3 separate regions of the Homo sapiens genome follow, and regions 2 and 3 are each linked to region 1. The links are contacts of gene promoters, found by promoter capture Hi-C in blood cells and fetal thymus (Javierre and others, 2016). All regions are on one chromosome and are shown on one strand. The core of a region is centred on a gene start or on the middle of the fragment in contact, and the rest is flanking DNA. Distances in the headings are between cores, read along the strand shown. Region 1 holds the start of FAM78A (family with sequence similarity 78 member A). Region 2 overlaps AIF1L (allograft inflammatory factor 1 like). Region 3 overlaps PRRC2B (proline rich coiled-coil 2B).

Region 1 (2,700 bases), core at 88-2,587:
GCGCGGCGGCGGGGCTGAGCGGCGACAGCGCGCTCACAATGATCATAAAATAAAGGAGGCGCGCGGGGTGGGGGCGAGAGAGCCCCGAGCCTCAGCCCTCCGCCCCCGGCCGCCCCCCCGAAGCCCCAAGCCGGGAGGAGGGTGGGGGCCGGGGGCGCCCACGCCGGCCCCAGACTCCAGTAGAGCCAAGGGACAGTGCCCGGGGAAGGGGGTGGGGGCGCCCCAAGAACGTGCCCGCGGCCGGGTCAGGGGCGTCCGGAGAGCGGCTGCCCGGGCCAGCGGAGTGGCCCCCGGGGCAGGTGAGTCGGCGGCGCCGCCCGAGTGGGGGCGTGCGCGCCAAAGTTCCCCGGCAGCGGCGAGCGCGCCCGACGCGTGGGGACCCGGGGCTGCTCGCGGCTGGAGAGGGGCGACAGAGGCGCTTGACGCGGCGGAGCGGGGGCACTATGCCCTCCGAGGGCCGAGGGACCCCAGCCGGGAAAGGGGTGCCCGCCGGATCCGACGGCACTGGTGGGTGGCCCTGCGCCCAGGGAGCCGGAGGGACCGGGGTGGGGAAGGGGCACCTGGCGCTGGCGGCGCGGCGGTGGGGACAGAGCAGGGCAAGTGCTCGCCGCCCCCTGCAGCGGCAGCCGCTCGCCCCCCACCCCGCCCGTCCGGGACGGTATCAGCGGAGATGTCACGGGCGGCTATTATTCGCTGGTGCGCGCGGTCGTGCGGCCGCCACTGACGGGGCGGGCGCGGGGGGCGGGGGCCACCGCCTCCGGGGAGACCGCCCAGAGCTGCGCCGTCAGCTCCGCAGCCCGCGCCCAGCGCACACGCGTCGCCGCCCCCGCGCGCCCCCCGCAGCAAAGTTCGGCTTAACTTTGAGGCTGGCCTTGACGCGCTGTCCCTTCCACCTCCCACCAGGTCCTCGGCGGCCGCGGCGAAGCAGGCGGCGGCGGCCGGAGCGCAGCCCCGGGACCCTGCACGGCGGCCGGCAGCGACAGCGGCGAAGGGACGCGGCGCCCCTGCGTGGGGACGTCCGGCCCGCGCCCGCGAGTGGGCGCCGACGGGGACCCGCGCCGCGCTCCCCCGTCACCGGCGAGCGGCCGGAGCCCTGAGCTCGCCTCCTGGAAGCCGCGGGTCGGCGCTCGCCCCGAGGGCGCCGGGACCTCGGCCGGGTGAACACAAACTGCTCTGCAATTGATTCGACCGCGCCGGGCGGGTGCGGGTGCGGGGCCCGGAGGGAGCGCGTGCGGAAGGCCGGAGGGCAGGAAGTCAGGCTTCTGCCGCGAGGGTGGCGCGGCCGCGCGGGGACAGAGCCTTCCTTATTTATGAGTCTGCCGGCGCTCGCCTGCTTCCTCCGAAGACTTCAGGGAGAGTCTGCGAGCTGCCGTCCCCGCGTGTGAGGCACAGAAGGGCTGGATGTCAGAACCGCATAATTATTCATTAAACTACAAACTTTTTTTAACCCAAAGAATATCGGTGATTTTTGTCCACTGCGAGGAGAAGAAGAGAGAGCCCAGGGCTCATGAAATGCAGCAGAATCCTTATTTATAAACAGGCCGCGGTAGTGATATATGCAACCCCAGTCTACTCAGTGAGTTTTCTATCCTATGGATATCGGTCTTGAGAGTTGAGATTGGAGAGCAGCGCCGTCTGTACTGGGTCCTGCAGCCTCTGTCCTTTCAATGCCTGGTTTTTTCTGTGACTGCTGGCCTTCCCTGGAGATCAGAGCGCTCCTGTATGCCATGGGCTGTATTCAGAGCATCGGAGGCAAAGCCAGAGTCTTCCGGGAAGGGATCACGGTGATTGATGTGAAAGCCTCCATCGACCCCGTCCCCACTAGCATCGATGAGTCCTCCAGCGTGGTGCTCCGCTACCGGACACCCCACTTCCGGGCCTCGGCCCAGGTGGTCATGCCGCCCATCCCCAAGAAGGAGACTTGGGTAGTTGGCTGGATCCAGGCGTGCAGCCACATGGAGTTCTACAACCAGTACGGCGAGCAGGGCATGTGAGTACGGCCGAGAGCCAGCTCTGGGAACTGCTAGGGATGGCCGAGCTTGGAGGCCTGGTGGGGGGCCGCGGATAGGGGGAAGGTGGAGATACCATGAAGACAGGACGGAGGCCAGAGGGAAGCTTTAGGCAGGTATGCAGGTGGCCTCATTGGCCCGGTGGCTCCCTGAAAAGTTTGCCTGTGGATCCAGATTGGAGTCACGGTCCTGCAATCTACCCTGCCACTGTTCCCCCCGGGTTCCTGTGTCCTTCCCTGCAAGATGCCGAGAAAGCAGAGAGACATTACTCCCAGTGTTTCCTGGCAGAGCAAGTGTGCCGTCCGCCTGAGGAGTGTCTGTGCCATCAGGGGTCACCAGAGAGGCTGCAGGGCTGCCCTCCAGGCCTCTGGCCCTGTGCGGGCCCATGGCAGACATTCAGGCACTCTGCAACTCCCAGACCGGTGTGTTCAGGGCTTTGCGATTGGGCCTCAATTATCTTTCTGGCTTTTACCAGTGTATGCCAGGAGCTGGGGGAGTGCTTCCCCGTTCCAAACGGCACTGTGTTTGAGAGCACAGTTAGTTTTAGAAGCCCGATTTCTTCACAGTGTATCGCTTTCTGTCTCCAAGGCAGAAGACCGCTTTATGCAGACAAGTCCAGTGTCCCTCTGGCGAGGCCCTAACAGGAACAGCAAAGAGGAGCCTCTCCTCTGCAGCCCCAAAGCCCGGTCTC
Region 2 (2,700 bases), core at 113-2,612, 150 kb after region 1:
CCACAAAAATTAGCCAGCAGTGATGGCATGCGTATGTAGTCTCAGCTACTCGGGAGGCTGAGGTGGGAGAATTGCCTGAGCCCAGGAGGTTGAGGCTACAGGGAGCTGTGATTGCACCATTGCACTCCAGCCTGGGTGACAGAGCCAGGCCCTGTCTCAAAAAGTAAATAAAAGGCCGGGCGCGGTGGCTCACGCCTGTAATCCCAGCACTTTGCGAGGCCGAGGCGGGCGGATCACGAGGTCAGGAGATGGAGACCATCCTGGCTAACACGGTGAAACCCCGACTCTACTAAAAATACAAAAAATTAGCCGGGCGCGGTGGCGGGCACCTGTAGTCCCAGCTACTCGGGAGGCTGAGGCAGGAGAATGGCGTGAACCCGGGAGGCGGAGGTTGCAGTGAGCAGAGACAGCGCCACTGCAGTCTGGCCTGGGCGAAAGAGCGAGACTCCGTCTCAAAAAAAAAAAAAAAAAAAAAGTAAATAAAAATAGGCTGGGAGCAGTGGCTCACGCCTGTAACCACAGTACTTTGGGAGGCCGAGGTGGGTGGAACACCTGAGGTCAGGAGCTCGAGACCAGCCTGGCCAACATGGTGAAACCCCGTCTCTGCTAAAAATACAACAATTAGCCGGGTGTGGTGGCGGACGCCTGTGTTCCCAGCTATACAGGAGGCTGAGGCAGGAGAATCGCATGAACACAAAAGGTGGAGGTTGCAGTGAGCTAAGATTGTGCCACTGCACTCCAGCCTGGGTGACAGAGTGAGACTCTGTCTCAGAAAAAAAAAAAAAAAAAAAAAAAAATATATATATATATATATATATACACACACACACACACATATATATATACACACACACACATATATATATATATACACACACACACATACACATACATAATAATAATTGATGAGGTAAGGGAGGCACAGAGAAGTTGAGAAAATTCTCCAATAGCCCTCAGTCAGAAAGTGGTGGTGACAGGATTAGAATTGAGATCGTCTGGATAAGGCTGACTGATGGTATTAAAGTCCTTCATAGAATACATTTCTGTAGTGAATTATAAATGCTCTAGGACAGAGGTTCTTTTTTTTTTTTGAGACGGAGTCTCACTCTGTCACTCATGCTGGAGTGCAGTGGCGCGATCTCGGCTCACTGCAAGCTCTGCCTCCCGGGTTCACAGCATTCTCCTGCCTCAGCTTCCCAAGTAGCTGGGACTACAGGCGGCCGCCACCACGCCCGGCTAATTTTTTGTATTTTTAGTAGAGACGGGGTTTCACCGTGTTAGCCAGGATGGTCTCCATCTCCTGACCTCGTGATCCGCCCACCTCAGCCTCCCAAAGTGCTGGGATTACAGGCGTGAGCCACCGCGCCCGGCCGACAGAGGTTCTTAACTTGGACCTCATGGGTTGGCTCCAGGGGGGTCGGATTGTGCCATTTACTGTTTGGCTTGCAGCACATTGCTTATTCAAGCCTACTTTTCAGTTGTGAAACAAGGATGACATAATAGAACCTGTCTCTTGCAGGGAGGTGGTTAGGATAAGTGAATTTCAGCTGTCTCAGACAAAAGGCACAGGACATGCTCATTTAATCTCTTACTATATTAGCTAGTTCGCAATTTGCTGAGCCCAGAACCAGCCCCAAAATACACCAATCAAGACGTTGGTAAGTTTGTCTGGTTTATTTGCAGGCTGTAGAGATGATATCCCAGTCCACGCACACTCCCATGCACACGCACACACATACTTCATCCACCTGAATTTGCCCGACAAACCCTCCTCTGAGTCATAGGGACAAAGCCATACTTGGCAGTCCTCACGTTACTGGTTACATTAGATTTGGTCTTTCAGAAAGAAGATGGTTGAAGTCCCAAGAAGCTGAGCCCTTAGCCAGAGAAGTAAGAGTCCTAGAACCAAGAGCCACAACCTGAAATAGATGCAGACTGCCCCCGCCCTCCTTCCAGGGACAACTCTTGAGACCCTCTCCTCCCAGGAGTTGAGTCTCAAGAAATGAAGGGACTGATGGGGTTTCCCAGGACACACGAGCCCCCACCCCCATTCAATGAGAAAACCCTCTCTTCTGCCATTTCCAGAAGCTGGGGCCACACCTGCTTGCTCTCCTCCCTTAAGGAGAATTCCTGCAGTCTTGTAGAACTGTGGAACTTACTGAAATAAGCCTGACTGGTTCTGCCTTCCTCTCTGAGTGAGGAACAGGGACACTGAATATGATGGGTAGTGAAGGAAGGCTTTATCTTCCTCAAAGGTCCCAGCCTGTCCCAGAGAGGAGAGGCAGTGAGGAGGGGTGAGGACATCTAATGATCTTGGGGAAAAAAAAAACAAAAAACAGGGCAGGGTGGGGGTAGAAGTAGGATTTTCCATTTACAGGGAGGAATGTTTTGCTGGGGTTTAAACTTCAACTAGGCCTGTGTGCATTTGAAGCAGATCCTTGAGCTCAAGATCAGCCAGTCATGGCCAAATAACCTCATTCCTGAACTGGTTGAAACCAGTGGGTTAACCCAACCTGGCCATTTCCTCATGCCTTACCTGTTTTCCTCCCTCAATCTGCTATCAGAGGTGACTAAGGAGCCGCAGGGAACCCACGTTGGCTCCAACCACCAAGACCTCCCAGTCCTGTCCACTTAAGGTGTTGCAAAGGCTCTGCCAAGACTCTCACCCAGTCTTGGGCCCATCTAGGCCCCCAGGACTGC
Region 3 (2,700 bases), core at 20-2,519, 220 kb before region 1:
GTGGGGGCTGCATGACCATCAGAGGCTCCAGTGGGGGCATCTCCCCTAAACTCCGTGGCAGAAGACTGGAGGCTTCTTCCTCCATTCCCAGGGCTCCTCCTCATCCATCAGCCTCTCCAGCCCCCTCTGCTGAGGGTCAAGAGCCTTCCCAAAGGCCTGCTTTGGAGCAGACATGGTACTTTTGGTTGGGTCAATGCACCCCTTCCCATGTTTTCCCTGAACAGTCGGCACCCAGAGCAGGGTAACTGACAGCAACGCAACCAGGCTGATGGATCACTCTTCTCAGCCTCGCTCCTTCTTGATCTCCTGGTCTATTTGTATGTTAATCTATACAGACCAAAAGGGCACACTGCAGGTTTAATAACCTTCATTATGGTTCTTGGCTGCCTGCAAGACTTTTTTTCCATGTTGGGCAACATAGCATTAGATGACACCAGTTAGAATTTCGTGGTTACTTCTTTATGGCTTACCCTTGAGGGGTTATGTGACTCACCCAAGATCCCACAGAGAGGCAAGGAGCTGGGGCTCACCTGGGTTTGTGGCCAGAGCCTGCAGGCAACTGTATTTACAGTGGGCAGGGAGGGTTCCCTGGGCCCCAGGAGGGAGTGGGGCTGGGCTGTTAAGCTTTGGTTCATGCCATGCTAACAGTGGTGGTGCCTCAGGACTTACAGCCTCCATCTTGCAAGCCCCCAACCTTAGGACTAGCCTCTTTCAGGGCTGGTCTCCGTTTGAGATTTTGTGAGCCACCTGTCCCTAGGGAGCAGTAAATCAGGGCAGTGAGTGTGGCTAGTTAAAGCTGAGATGCCCATGGCCAGGTCCCCAACTCTCTTCCATAGTCAAAAGGCTTAGAAGGAAGTTGAGGGACTGGGGTTCCTCATGGAAACAGCGTTTTATTTCTTGGGGGTAATTTATAAGTTTTCTTAGCTGGTTCTAGGCACTAAGCTAAAAGCTACTGGTGACTTTGAATCCACACTACGCCATGAGGTCGATACCATTACAATCTGTGTTTTATGATTAAGGAGACTGACTCAGGTGGTGAAACGTCTTTCCCCAGGTCAGTGAGGCAATGGCAAAACCGAGAACTGCTGCCTCAGCCCATTCTTACCTTTTACCCTTCGCTACCCCAGGCCTGGCTTGCTCCCTCCCCACCCCAAAGCACAGCATAATCCTCCTCCACTTCCTGCAAAAGCACCGCTAGAAGTGACAACACAACACGCCACATCAAATGCTTACCTCCTCTGACCAGCTCGTTTCTCACGGCAAGTGACGGGGCCACAGGCAGGCACTGTGCACAACCAGATGCCATCCGTGGGAAGAGGGTGGAGTGCTTGATGCTGCCGCATTTGGAAGATGCTTCTTAGCCACGGGTTTCAATCCCTTCTCTACCCACACAGCTTCTGTTAAGGCATTTCAGCCGTGCCACTCCTAATTTCCGTGTGAACTCTGTAAAATTAGAATTCTTTGATCTGTAGGTCTCTCTGGTCAAATGACCAAGAAACGAGGGATGTACAACCTGAGAAAGCACGTTCAGCTTTATCTTTTTAAACTTTTTTTATTTAAATAAGGAGAATTCTTTCATATGGAAAGAGCTAGTACAATCACATATTTGAAAGGAGAAACAATAGGTACTGAACCGGAGGGAAAGGGCGAGGGTGAGTGTGCCAGCACCGGCCTGGTGAATCCACGATTCGATTTCCCATCCAAGGTAAGTTTCCCAAAATACCGTATAAACAAGCTGCACATTACACCTCTAGCCATCGTCTGCCCTTTCAAATATCTGGTCTACATGGAAAGACAAAGAGGAAAGGCCAAAACATAAACAAAAGGAAACAAAAACAAAACACAACCCTCTCAGGAACCAAACAAAACCCCCAAATCCTTTTTTACTACACAAGGCATGAGGTCAAAAGCTTGAGTACAGTGTCCCCTTTAGATCACGGGAGAAAGGCGTCCACACAGAGCCTTAGCAGGAATTTCCACTCTGAGGCTTCAGAACATGCTGAAGATGGGGCTCTGAGGGTGCCACTACCATCCTGGAGGCCACCAAGTGGGGTGGAAACAGTGAAGAGCAGGTCTCACATGCCCGAAGACCACCAGCCAACTACACATTGGTGGCCCTGGTGGAGCATGGCTGGGCGACAGCGTCCATCCCCAACACTGAGCCACTCCTGTCCTGGATGACTTCCTGCTTAGGTCCGTCACATTTCAGAAGAGAGCTGGCTTTCTGGAAGCCTACGTTTCCCATTCATCACAGAACACGACAGAGTGCACACATCCTGGTATCCTTGGTCTTCAAAGGCCATTTCCAGCAGACCCTCTAACCCAGGCTTGTTCTGCAGGAAGTGAAAAGGGACAAATGAAGATTTGAGGGGCAGCCTGCAGCTACTTGGCACAGGGGAACCAAATGGCAAGGGAGAAGGCTCCACCAGAGCTGCCATGCTGCCGTAGCAGGCCAGACCACAGCATGGCTGTGCACCTGTGTGTGCTCAGCTTCCAGAAGCTGTCACTGACCATCGCGAAGGCAGATCCAGAAGATAGGAGGGTGACAGCACGGCTGGAGAGCACTGATGTCAACGTTTAACAAGGTTCCCCAGTGTCCCTAGAAGTGGCTGGAAGGACCACAGCTTTGGAACTGAACTGATTTTCTTGAATGTGAAATAAAGTCATCTTTTGTTTTCCCCCTTAAGGAACCTAGAGCCA

The links. The method cuts DNA at HindIII sites, captures the fragments that hold promoters and counts their contacts. A CHiCAGO score of 5 or more calls a contact.
Region 2: a contact is called between a fragment that was not itself captured here and the fragment with the promoter of FAM78A in region 1, in 4 of 17 cell types (erythroblasts, megakaryocytes, fetal thymus and 1 more). The highest score is 9.7, in erythroblasts.
Region 3: a contact is called between a fragment that was not itself captured here and the fragment with the promoter of FAM78A in region 1, in 2 of 17 cell types (naive CD4 T cells and non-activated CD4 T cells). The highest score is 5.9, in naive CD4 T cells.

What each region holds. Positions count from the first base shown.
Region 1 is chr9:131,275,147-131,277,846 of GRCh38, reverse strand. It overlaps FAM78A (family with sequence similarity 78 member A), which reads left to right and starts at 1,337. Exons shown (of 2, transcript NM_033387.4): 1 at 1,337-1,990. The coding sequence starts at 1,668. RefSeq lists a silencer at 1-1,167 and enhancers at 1,808-2,307, 2,468-2,517, 2,548-2,597, 2,010-2,622, 2,608-2,657. The HindIII fragment of the contact is 5,571 bases long and covers 1-2,117 here.
Region 2 is chr9:131,122,104-131,124,803 of GRCh38, reverse strand. AIF1L (allograft inflammatory factor 1 like) reads right to left here. Exons shown (of 6, transcript NM_031426.4): 6 at 1,660-2,700. Among named protein-coding and RNA genes, the nearest start is that of NUP214, 2.1 kb to the left of the region's middle. The HindIII fragment of the contact is 4,223 bases long and covers 1-2,700 here.
Region 3 is chr9:131,499,030-131,501,729 of GRCh38, reverse strand. PRRC2B (proline rich coiled-coil 2B) reads right to left here. Exons shown (of 32, transcript NM_013318.4): 32 at 1,537-2,700. It also overlaps the pseudogene LOC124902290. Among named protein-coding and RNA genes, the nearest start is that of POMT1, 2.5 kb to the left of the region's middle. RefSeq lists an enhancer at 515-1,714. The HindIII fragment of the contact is 1,286 bases long and covers 627-1,912 here.